Linked DNA regions of Homo sapiens: region 1 is linked to region 2. Evidence: promoter capture Hi-C in 16 types of primary human blood cells and fetal thymus (Javierre and others, 2016). All regions are on one chromosome and are shown on one strand. Each heading gives the region's core, a stretch centred on a gene start or on the middle of the fragment in contact. The rest is flanking DNA. Distances are from core to core; before and after follow the strand shown.

Region 1 (5,297 bases), core at 2,797-5,296, 170 kb before region 2:
ACCACAGATCTAGGAAGATAAGGGAATACCATATAGGATAAATGCCAAGAAATGACAAGTAGGCATATCATATCCAAATTTCAGAAAATCAGGCTGGGTGCAGTGGCTCACACCTGTAATCCCAGCACTTTGGGAGGCCAAGGCAAGAGGATCACTAGAGGTCAGAAAGACCAGCCTGGGCAACATAGTGAGATCTTGCTTCTAAAATTAAAAAAAAAAAAAAAAAAAATGGCCGGGCACGGTGGCTCACGCCTGTAATCCCACCACTTTGGGAGGCCGAGGCGGGCGGATCACCTGAGGTCAGAAGTTTGAGACCAGCCTGGCCAACATGGTGAAACCCTGTCTCTACTAAAAATACAAAAAATTAGCCGGGCGTGATGGCAGGTGCCTGTAATCCCAGCTATTTGGGAGGCTGAGGCAGGAGAATCGCTTGAACCCAGGAAGCGGAGGTTGCAGTGAGCCAAGATCACACCATTGCACTCCAGCCTTGGGGACAAGAGTGAGATTTCATCTCAAAACAGAAAAAAAAATTAGCCAGGTGTGGCACATGACAGTAGTCCCAGCTACTCGAGAGGTGGAGGCGGGAGGATCCCTTGAGCCCAGAAGCCTCAAGGCTTCTGAGGTGACAGAGTATGACCTTATCTCTAATAATAATAATAATAATAATAATAATAATAATAATAATAATAATAATTTTTAGAAAAACTTCAGAGAATCAAAGATAAAAAAATACTGAAAAGAAAACAGAGGGAAAAAATATCTTTCCTGCAGAGGAGCAACAATAATAATTACAACCAACTCTGCAGAAACCATGCAAGCAAGAGAGTGGAGAGTAATATACCAAGTATTGAGAGGAAAAAAACACATCAACCTAGAATTCTTTACCCTGAAAAATTATCCTTCATGCATGAAAGGGAAATGAAGACTTTCAGACAAACAAACAGTGAGGGAATTTTTGTCAGTAGATCTGCCTTGTAGGAAACATTAAAAGAAGTTCTTCAGCGGAGCACTTATTTTATTTTATGGAATGAAGTGTTGCCCGATTCTAGAATCACAAATAAAGCCAACTGGGAAAAAATAAAGGTAGTTCTTCAGAGAGGACAAAAATTATGTGTCAGAAACTCAGATTTTTTTTGTTTGTTTTTTTTGAAACGGAGTCTCGCTCTGTTGCCCAGGCTGCAGTGCAGTGGCGCGATCTCCACTCACTGCAAGCTCCATCCCCCAGGTTCATGCCATTCTCCTGCCTCAGCCTCCCAAGTAGCTGGGACTACAGGCACCTGCCAGCACGCCCAGCTACATTTTTTTTGTATTTTTAGTAGAGACGGGGTTTCACCGTGTTCACCAGGATGGTCTCCATCTCCTGACCTCATGATCTGCCCACCTCGGCCTCCCAAAGTGCTGGGATTATAGGCGTGAGCCACCGTGCCTGGCCAGAAACTCAGATTTTACATAAAGAAAGGAGGAGCATGGCCGGGCATGGTGGCTCACACCTGTAACCCCAGCACTCTGGGAGGCTGAGGTGGGTGGATCACCTGAGGTCAGGAGTTTGAGACCAGTCTGGCCAACATGGTGAAACCCTGTCTCTACTAAAAATATAAAAATTAGCCAGGCAGGGTGGCAGGTGCCTGTAGTCCCAGCTATTCAGGAGGCTGAGGCAGAGAATTGCTTGAACCCAAGAGGCAGAGGTTGCAGTAGCAGAGATCACACCACTGCACTACAGCCTGGGTGACAGAGCAAGACTCTCTCTCAAAAGAAAATAAGTAAGTAAATAAATAAATAAAGCCAAAAAAAGGCAGAAAAAGTCTGGCAGACAAAAATAGGAACAAAGAACAAGGAAAACAAATAGAAAATAGTAGCTGGGCGAGGTGGCTCACACCCGTAATTCCAGCACTTTGGGAGGCCAAGGCCGGTAGATCACAAAGTTAGAAGTTCAAGACCAGTCTGGCCAAGATGGTGAAACCCCATCTCTACTAAAAATACAAAAATTAGCCAGGTATGGTGGTGGGCGCCTGTAGTCCCAGCTACTTGGGAGGCTGAGGCAGGAGAATTGCTTGATCCCGGGAGGCGGAGCTTGTAGTGAGCCGAGATCCAGCCACTAGACTCCAGCCTGGGCGACAGAGCAAGACTCTGCCTCAAAAAATAAAAAAAAAAAGAAAAAAAAGAAAGAAAATAGTAATATGGTAGCTGTTAACCCAACTATATAAATAACACTTCATTTATTTAGTTATTTTTTATTTTACTGATTGACTTATTTTTTTGAGATGGAGTCTCACTCTGTCGCCCAGGCTGGAGTGCAGTGGCACAATCTTGGCCCACTGCAACCTCCGCCTCCCAGGTTCAAGCAATTCTCCTGCCTCAGCCTCCTGAGTAGCTGGGATTACAGGAGTGCGCCACCATACCTGGCTAATTTTTGTGTTTTTAGTAGAGACGGGGTTTCACCATGTTGGCCAGGCTGGTCTCAAACTCCTGACCTCAGGTGATCCCCCTGCCTCCACCTCCCAAAGTGCCAGGATTACAGGTGTGAGCCACCGTGCACAGACTATTTAGTTATGTTTTAGAGGCAAGGTCTGGTTCTGTCACTCAGGCTGGAATGCAGTAAAGCAATTATAACTGTCACCTTAAACTCCTGGGCTCAAGCAATCCTCCCAGCTCAGCCTCTCAGGTAGCTGAATCTACAGGTGCACACTACCACGTCCAGCCAATTTTTAAATTTGTTTTATAGAAAAAGGGTCTCATTTTGTTGCCCACTCTAGTCTCAAACTCCTGATTTCAAGTGATCCTCCTGCCTTGGCCTCCTGAAGTGCTGGAATTACAGGTGTGGGCCACTATGCTGGGCCTCAATAATCACTTTAAATGTCAATGGCCTAAATGCAGCAAATAAAAGATGAGGATTGTTAGAATGGACCAAAAAATAAGACCTAACCGTAGGTTTTCTATAAGAAACTGACTTTAAATATAACCACAAAACAGATTAAATGTAAAGGAATAGAAGTTAACTGGGCATGGTGGTACATGCCTGTGGTCCCAGCTACTCAGGAGGCTGAGGTGTGAGGATTGCCTGAGCCAGGGAGGTTGGGGCTACAGTGAGCTATGATTGCACCACTGCACTCCAACCTGGGTGACAGAGAAAGACCCTGTATCAAAAAAAAAAAAAAAAAAAAAAAAAAAGCTTAAATTCTAGAAAGCTTTAATTCTAGAAAGAAAATTAATTTTAGAAAGAGAAGATTTTAAGTCAGGCACAATGGTGCACACCTGTAGTCCCAGATACTTGGGAGGCTGAGGCAAGAAGATCACTTAAGACACTTCATTCACTATGTGCCCAGGAGTTTGAGTTCAGCCTAGGCACATAGGGAAACCCTGTCTCTAAAAAAGAAAAAAGAAATCATAAAAAGTACTCAATCCAAAAGAAGACAAGAAAAGAAAAGGGAAAAAAGAAACACAAAACAGAAGGAATAAATAGAACATAAACAGCAAGATGGCTAAACAGAACCATATTAATCAATTATACATATCATTAAATATAAATTAACTAAACAGTCAAACTGTTTTTAAACAGCAAGACCCAAGTCATATGATGCACTTTTTTTTTTTTTTTTTTTTGAGATGAAGTCTCACTCTTATTGCCCAGGCTGGAGCACAATGGTGTGATCTCAGCTCACTGCAACCTCTGCCTCCTGGGTTCAAGCAATTCTTCTGCCTCAGCCTCCCGAGTAGCTGGGATTACAGGTGCCTACCACCATGCCTGGCTAATTTTTGTATATTTAGTAGAGACGGGGTTTCACCATGTTGACCAGGCTGGTCTTGAACTTCTGACCTCAGGTGATCCACCCGTCTCAGCCCCCCAAAGTGCTAGGATTACAGGCGTAAGCCACCGTGCCCGGTCCACACTTTCTTACATTTAATAAAATTTATATACATATTTTTATATAAAGACAGAGTTTTGTCATGTTGCCCAAGCTGGTCTTGAACTCCTGAGCTCAAACGATCCACCTTCCTCGGCCTCCCACAGTGCTGGGATTACAGGTGTGAGCCACCACACCCAGCCATGATGCACTTTAAATATAAAGTTACAGGTTGAAAAAAAAAAGGATAAAAAAAGATATAACATGCAAATAGCAAGCATAAGAAAGCTGGTGTGCTATTAAAAGCACACAAAGTCGATTCAAGGCAAGTATTATCAGAGATAAAGATATTAATTTCATAAAGATAAAATGACCAAGGAGACATTAAAATACTAAATGTGAATGCACCTAATAACAAAGACTCAAAATACGTAAAGCAAAATTCACCAAATTAAAGAGAGAAATGAACAGATCTACAATCAGAATTGGAGAGATAGAGTGTAAATGAAATACAGAGTCAAAGAGACAGACGTACAGAGGGAAAGAGAGAGATACAGAGAAACAGAGAGCCAGAGTGAGAGAGACAGAGGCAGCCTAATCCAAAGAGGACAATGAGTCTCAGAGACAGGGAGCATCTGAAAATAAATGACAAGACAGGGAGGGTTAGAAGCTCTGGTTGCAGGGGATGGAGTCACAGGAGGAATCTGGGACTAAGGGATCCTGCAGGGATGAATGCGGGACAGACAGCAACACTTACCCGCTGCCCAGCAGAGCCTTGGGGGCCAGGCTCCCCACGCAGTCCCTGTGTAAGAGGGAGGAGACGAATGGCGTCAGCTGTTGAGGACTCTGACCTGGGGCCCTCAGGACTCCCCAGAATTCCCCCACCTGGGGCCACCTGGGTACTCACTCTCTCGCCCTTCTCTCCTGGGTGGCCAGAGATTCCTTTGGGTCCAGTGGGGCCTGGGGGTCCCTGAGCAACAAGACAGGGCCTCAGCCTTGTGTTGGGGCAGGATGGAGTGGGCAGGGGCTTGGGAACAGAGGTGTTGGGGAGGGCGCTCAAGCTTGGTCTGGGCCTCTGGGTTCTTCACCATACACCCAGCACACCGCAGTCAGTTCATACAGCTCAGTGTTAAAAGATCTGATCCTGGAGTCAGACAGTCCCACCACAGCTCATTGCCATGTGCTGGCACAAGAATCTCTACTTTTCTTGGTCTTAGGTGATAACCACACATGGTTCTCATTACTTGGATTGAATAAGATTTATGGAAGGTAGTTTGCATATTAAGTGCTCAATAAATACTTGTTGAATGAATGAATGGAAGGATGAATGGATGGATGGATAGATGGATACAAGGGTGGATGATGGACAGATGTATGGATGTATGCATAGATGGAAAGATGGACAGACACATGGGTGAGAGTACAAGGAGAACTACTCACTATGTGACCAGGACT
Region 2 (5,249 bases), core at 961-3,460:
CAAAAATTAGCCCGGCATGATAGTGCGTGCCTATAATCCCAGCTACTTGGGAGGCTGAGGCAGGAGAATCCCTTGAACCTGGGAGGTGGGGGTTGCAGTGAGCCAAGATCGTGCCACTGCACTCCAGCCTGGGTGACAAGAGTGAAACTCCGTCTCAAAAACAAAAACAAAAACAAGGGCAGTATAGACTTTGGTTGGGTTCAGCCTTTGTTGGTTACTTGAGGCATGATACTTGAGCAACTTGTGCCTCAGTTTCTTTATCTGTAAAACAGGGAACAGTGCTCAAACTCATAGGATGGTTGGTAGCATTTCATGACATGATGCTAATAAAGTGGCTAGAACAGTGCCTGGCCTTCAGGAAGCATTCAATAAATATTAGTTTTATTGACATAGGAGAAATAGCTTAGAACAAAGTACCCTGGGTTAGTTCTAAGGAAGGCTGAGGGTTACCTGTTGTGGCATAGTCAATTGAAGTGAGTTACAATGAAGGCAGAGAAGGCAGAATTTGATAGAACTTGAAGAGTATGTATCAAGTGCTGCCCATGTGAACAGCTCTCTGCTGGAAGAAGGAGATTGAGGCTGAGCACAGGCTCACGCCTGTAATCCCAGCACTTTGGGAGGCCAAGGTGGGTGGATCACTTGAGGCCAGGAGTTTGAGACCAGCTGGGCCAACATGGTGAAAACTCATCTCTACTAAAAATACAAAAATTAGCTGGGCTTGGTGGTCCGCGCCTGTAATCCCAGCGTCTTGGGTGGCTGATGCACGAGAATTGCTTGAACCCCAGGAAGCGGAGGTTGCAGTGAGCCGAGATCGCACCACTGCACTCCAGCCTGGGGGACAGAGTGAGTAAAAGACCAAGCAGAGTCATTGAGTAAAAGACCTAGCAGAGTAAATCTAACGGATGAGTGTGTGGAAAGATGAGGTGCAGGAAAGCCAAACTCAAGATGGAGAAGGAGAAAAGAGAAACAGATGACCTACTCCTATTATGCCTTTTTTTGCTTGACATTTCCCTCCTGTCCCTGCTTTGCAGAGTAAAGACAGATGGTAATTTCCAGGTAGCCCAGGAGCCCGGTGCCATTTTTCCAAGACTGACCAGCTTTGAAAAGACTCTTGCCTGCCCAGTCTCCAGACATTCGCAAACTCTTCCCAAAGACAAACCCTTTCCAAAGCCCTGCTCTAAAATCGACCCAGCTCTTAGGAGGTGAGGCCAGGGCTCGCCACTGAAAGGGAGCAATTGTCCTCTCAACTGTCTGTGGGTCCAGCTGCCATAGGCCTGGAGGTGGTTCCACCACAGCCTGTGGTGCGGTCCGCCTGCAGGCTCTGATTCACTCCAGGGACAACACTTAAAAACGCAAGCAGGCAACACATGCGATTCCAGGAGCCCCTGCCAGATTCATACTCTGTTTTTCCATCATTTCACTGGCCTCCCCCTCAGGAGGGAGGCTCCTGAGGCATTTTACAAATAAAAGAATCAAACCCACCAACAGGACGAGCACCTGATAAGCAGTGAGGCATTGCCCAAGAGTTCCCAGGAAGAGGCGGCTTTGTTCTCCTTTCAAGCCCTTGACACTGCTAACAGCTCTAATTACTGCATTTGCCATGGGATGTAAAAGAAACCCACATTCCAGAAACCATGTAGTCTTCCCGGGAGAGACATGCAGGGAAAGGTGCCCAGGTCTGCAGGAACGTGTTCTTTCATTCCTGGTCCCTAACCTTGGCAGCTGTTCTGAGAACTTAACAGTGCCTCCTTTATGTACATGAAGGAGGGCACTTTTGCACATGTAGGGATGCATCTCACTACCCATATCCCCAAATCTGGTCTGCATATTTGACTACATTTCCTGCAAAACATACTTCTTAAGAACATGAAGATCTTCAAAATTCATCCAAGCCATTTTGGGGGAAATGAGGACTTCAGAAGTTTCTGAGGCTAGAAGCAAAACCGTATAGAACTTCTTCCCACATAATTTAACTATAAAATCTGATGATGTAACACCCACCCACACCCACATCACAAACCAAAGTGACATCACAAATACTAGAGATAATGGCTCAAAGCTGCCTGCATTGAGCCCACATCTAAACAAACAGCAATTTGCCCATATGTGACTAAGGCAGAGAAAGACAGGTGACTAGAAATATTAAAACAAAAACAAAAAAAAAGAGAGAGAGAGAAAAAGGAAAGAGAAAATACATATTTCTTCCCCTTACTAAGCTAGCGAAAATAAAATTTAAGGCAACTGAAATATGGTAAGGTGATTTTATTTCTATAGATGACATTTCTTAGAAAGCCAGATCTCTTTAAATATGTGATTCTAATCTATCCAAATTGTTCTGTTGCTCTTAGTTGGTCCCAGGAAATGGAGGCCGGCAGCATTAATGTTTTCGTGTTGCTTTTATGGTCCCCAGAGTATATTGATTTCCCTGTGAATGAGCTCTTCTTGGTGCATGGCAGTTGGTTAGAAAGTGTATTCAGCCGAACATGGTGGCTCATGCTGGTAATCCCAGCACTTTGGGAGGCTGAGGCGGGCGGATCATCTGAGGTGGGGAGTTCGAGGCCAGCCTGACCAACATGGAGAAACCCTGTCTCTACTAAAAATACAACATCAGCTGGGTGCGGTGGTGCATGCCTGTAATCTCAACTACTTCGGAGGCTGAGGCAGAAGAATCCCTTGAGCCCGGGAGGCGGAGGTTGCAGTGAGCCAAGATCACGCCATTGCACTCCAGCCTGGGCAACAAGAGCTAAACTCCGTCCCCCCCACACACAAAAAAAGAAAGTGTAAAGCGTATTCAGGGCTTGGCAGAACTTACCGGCTGTCATGTCTGTGTTGCAGCATGGTTGAGTGTCTACAGCTCATATGGAAGTCTTGAGTGACCCTGCCGTCCGTATCTTTCCAGCAGGCAGGAATTGTCTTCAATTCCTTGTGAACCCTCCCTGACCCCCGACTTCCTGCCCTGGCATGCTATGTTCTTTGAGAGCCTGAATATTACTGTAACCTTGTGGAGTGACTATCTCCTCCCTACTTGGTATAAAAGGCTTTGGTGAACAGGAGAGGACATATAGTAAATTTCTAAGAACTGGGTGGAAGGAATGGCCTATAAAAAGATGTTAATATTTTGCCTTCAAAGTAGACCTTTTATTCTCTGCTGAAGAACGGTCCTTTTAAAATTCATTTCTCCCTCCTTATAATTCTAGCACCCAATCAATGTGAGACGAGACCCCAGCATCCCTATCTATGGACTCCGACAGTCCATCTTATTAAATACCAGGCTTCAGGACTGCTATGTGGACTCACCGGCTCTCACCAACATCTGGATGGCCAGAACATGTGCAAAGCAGAACATTAATGCCCCAGCACCAGCTACCACTTCCTCTTGGGAAGTTGTAAGGAACCCATTAATTGCCAGTTCCTTCTCCCTGGTTAAGCTTGTACTCAGGCGGCAACTGAAGAATAAGTGCTGCCCACCACCATGCAAGTTTGGAGAAGGAAAACTCTCGAAGAGATTAAAGCACAAGGACGATTCAGTGATGAAAGCCACCCAGCAGGCCAGGAAAAGAAACTTCATCAGTTCCAAGAGCAAGCAGCCAGCAGGGCATAGGAGGCCTGCAGGAGGCATCAGAGAGGTAGACGAGGACCAGTGGTGGGGAAAATGTGACTGGCGAGGGGAGGGAAAAGGTAAAGCCAGAGAACACTTAACGGTTGAGATTATATGGCGTGCGGCTACCGCCTATAATCTCAGCACTTTGGGAGGCCAAGCAGGGAGGATCACTTGAGCTCAGAGAGTTCAAGACCAGCCTGGGCAACATAGGGAGACCTCATCTCTACTAAAAAAAAAAAAAAAAAGCCAGGCATGATGCACATGCCTGTGATCCCAGCTACTTGGGAGGCTAAGGAGGGAGGATTACTTGAACCCAGGAGGTTGAGGCTGCAGTGAGCCATGATTGCACTACTGCATTCCTGATTGGGCAACAGAGCAAGACCCTGTCTAAAAAATAAAAAAAAAAAAAAAAAAAAAAGAAAAGAAAAAAAGATCTATACCAAGTGAAGGAAATCCTAAAGTTGAAGACAGAATGTGGGGAGGAGGTGTAGCATGACAGAGTGGAAGAATGCCCCAGATTTTGGGGTCATGCTATTTATCATTTACACTATGCTTAGTTCTAGAGAAGGATGAGGTGGCTTTCATAAGCACAGACTTGACATGAAGGAAAAATAAGGGTGAGAAGGAAGGCTAGGATATGGGTAGTGCATGCTTGTGCACACACACACACACACACACAACCAGTGGTCAGCTATGGATCTGGATTGTGAGCGTCCACATGGAGAACTTGGCCTACGAAGGCCTGATTGGAATCCAGGTATGTTACCCCGTGGTGGCCAGCAGGCCATCAGGGTTCAAATCCCAACTCGGACTGTAATTGAGGACGACCTCGGGCTTAATTTCTTTGTGCCTTGATATTATCATATTAAATGGGGGATAACGGCCCTTCCCTCATAGGGCTTCATGAATGTTAAATAATACATGCAAAAGGCTTTTGAACAGAGCCTGGCAGAGGGTAAATAATTAGGATCTTGCGTGGCATTCAATAGATGACAGCTGTTATTAACCTTCTAGCTGTGTGGCCTTGGGCAAACCAATTCCAATTTCTTTGCCTATAAAGTTGTCTCCTGCTGACCTCACAGGGTTATGGGGAACACATGCAGTGGTATGTACATAAAGGAATTCAGTAAACTAGAACATGCTAGACAAATGTTGGTTGTTGCTGTAACCAAGACTCTGGGACACAAATCCCAGATAATTATTCTGAGCTCCCCTCTCAAGTTTTAGCTTTGACTTCTCTGCTTTCTTCCTGGCTAGAGTAAAGAAAGTTCAAAGGAGAAAAAACTAACAGTCCGCCAAGATCTTGAGGACAGATATGCTGAACATGTGGCTGCCACCCAAGCGCTACCCCAGGACAGTGGGACAGCAGCCTGGAAGGGCCGAGTGTTGCTTCCTGAAACCCAAAAGAGACAGCAGTTGTCGGAGGACACGCTAACCATCCATGGTCTCCCCACAGAGGGTTACCAGGCTCTGTACCACGCTGTGGTGGAGCCAATGCTGTGGAATCCTTCAGGGACCCCCAAGAGGTACAGCCTGGAGCTGGGCAAGGCCATTAAACAAAAGCTCTGGGAGGCTCTTTGCAGTCAGGGTGCCATCTCTGAAGGTGCTCAGAGGGACCGGTTCCCTGGCAGGAAGCAGCCAGGTGTCC

Evidence for each region. Contacts are between HindIII fragments. The CHiCAGO score rates a contact against its expected background, and 5 or more counts as called.
Region 1: a fragment that was not itself captured here is called in contact with the fragment with the promoter of C22orf31 in region 2 in 1 of 17 cell types (megakaryocytes); the score reaches 5.1 in megakaryocytes.

The regions. Positions count from the first base shown.
Region 1 is chr22:29,233,652-29,238,948 of GRCh38, reverse strand. EMID1 (EMI domain containing 1) reads right to left here. Exons shown (of 15, transcript NM_133455.4): 10 at 5,283-5,297; 11 at 4,750-4,812; 12 at 4,600-4,644. Among named protein-coding and RNA genes, the nearest start is that of EMID1, 30 kb to the right of the region's middle. RefSeq lists enhancers at 4,303-4,803, 4,804-5,297. The HindIII fragment of the contact is 1,718 bases long and covers 3,188-4,905 here.
Region 2 is chr22:29,058,792-29,064,040 of GRCh38, reverse strand. C22orf31 (chromosome 22 open reading frame 31) reads left to right here and starts at 2,210. Exons shown (of 3, transcript NM_015370.2): 1 at 2,210-2,251; 2 at 3,198-3,626; 3 at 4,859-5,249. The coding sequence starts at 2,249. RefSeq lists an enhancer at 1,073-1,840. The HindIII fragment of the contact is 5,266 bases long and covers 1-3,430 here.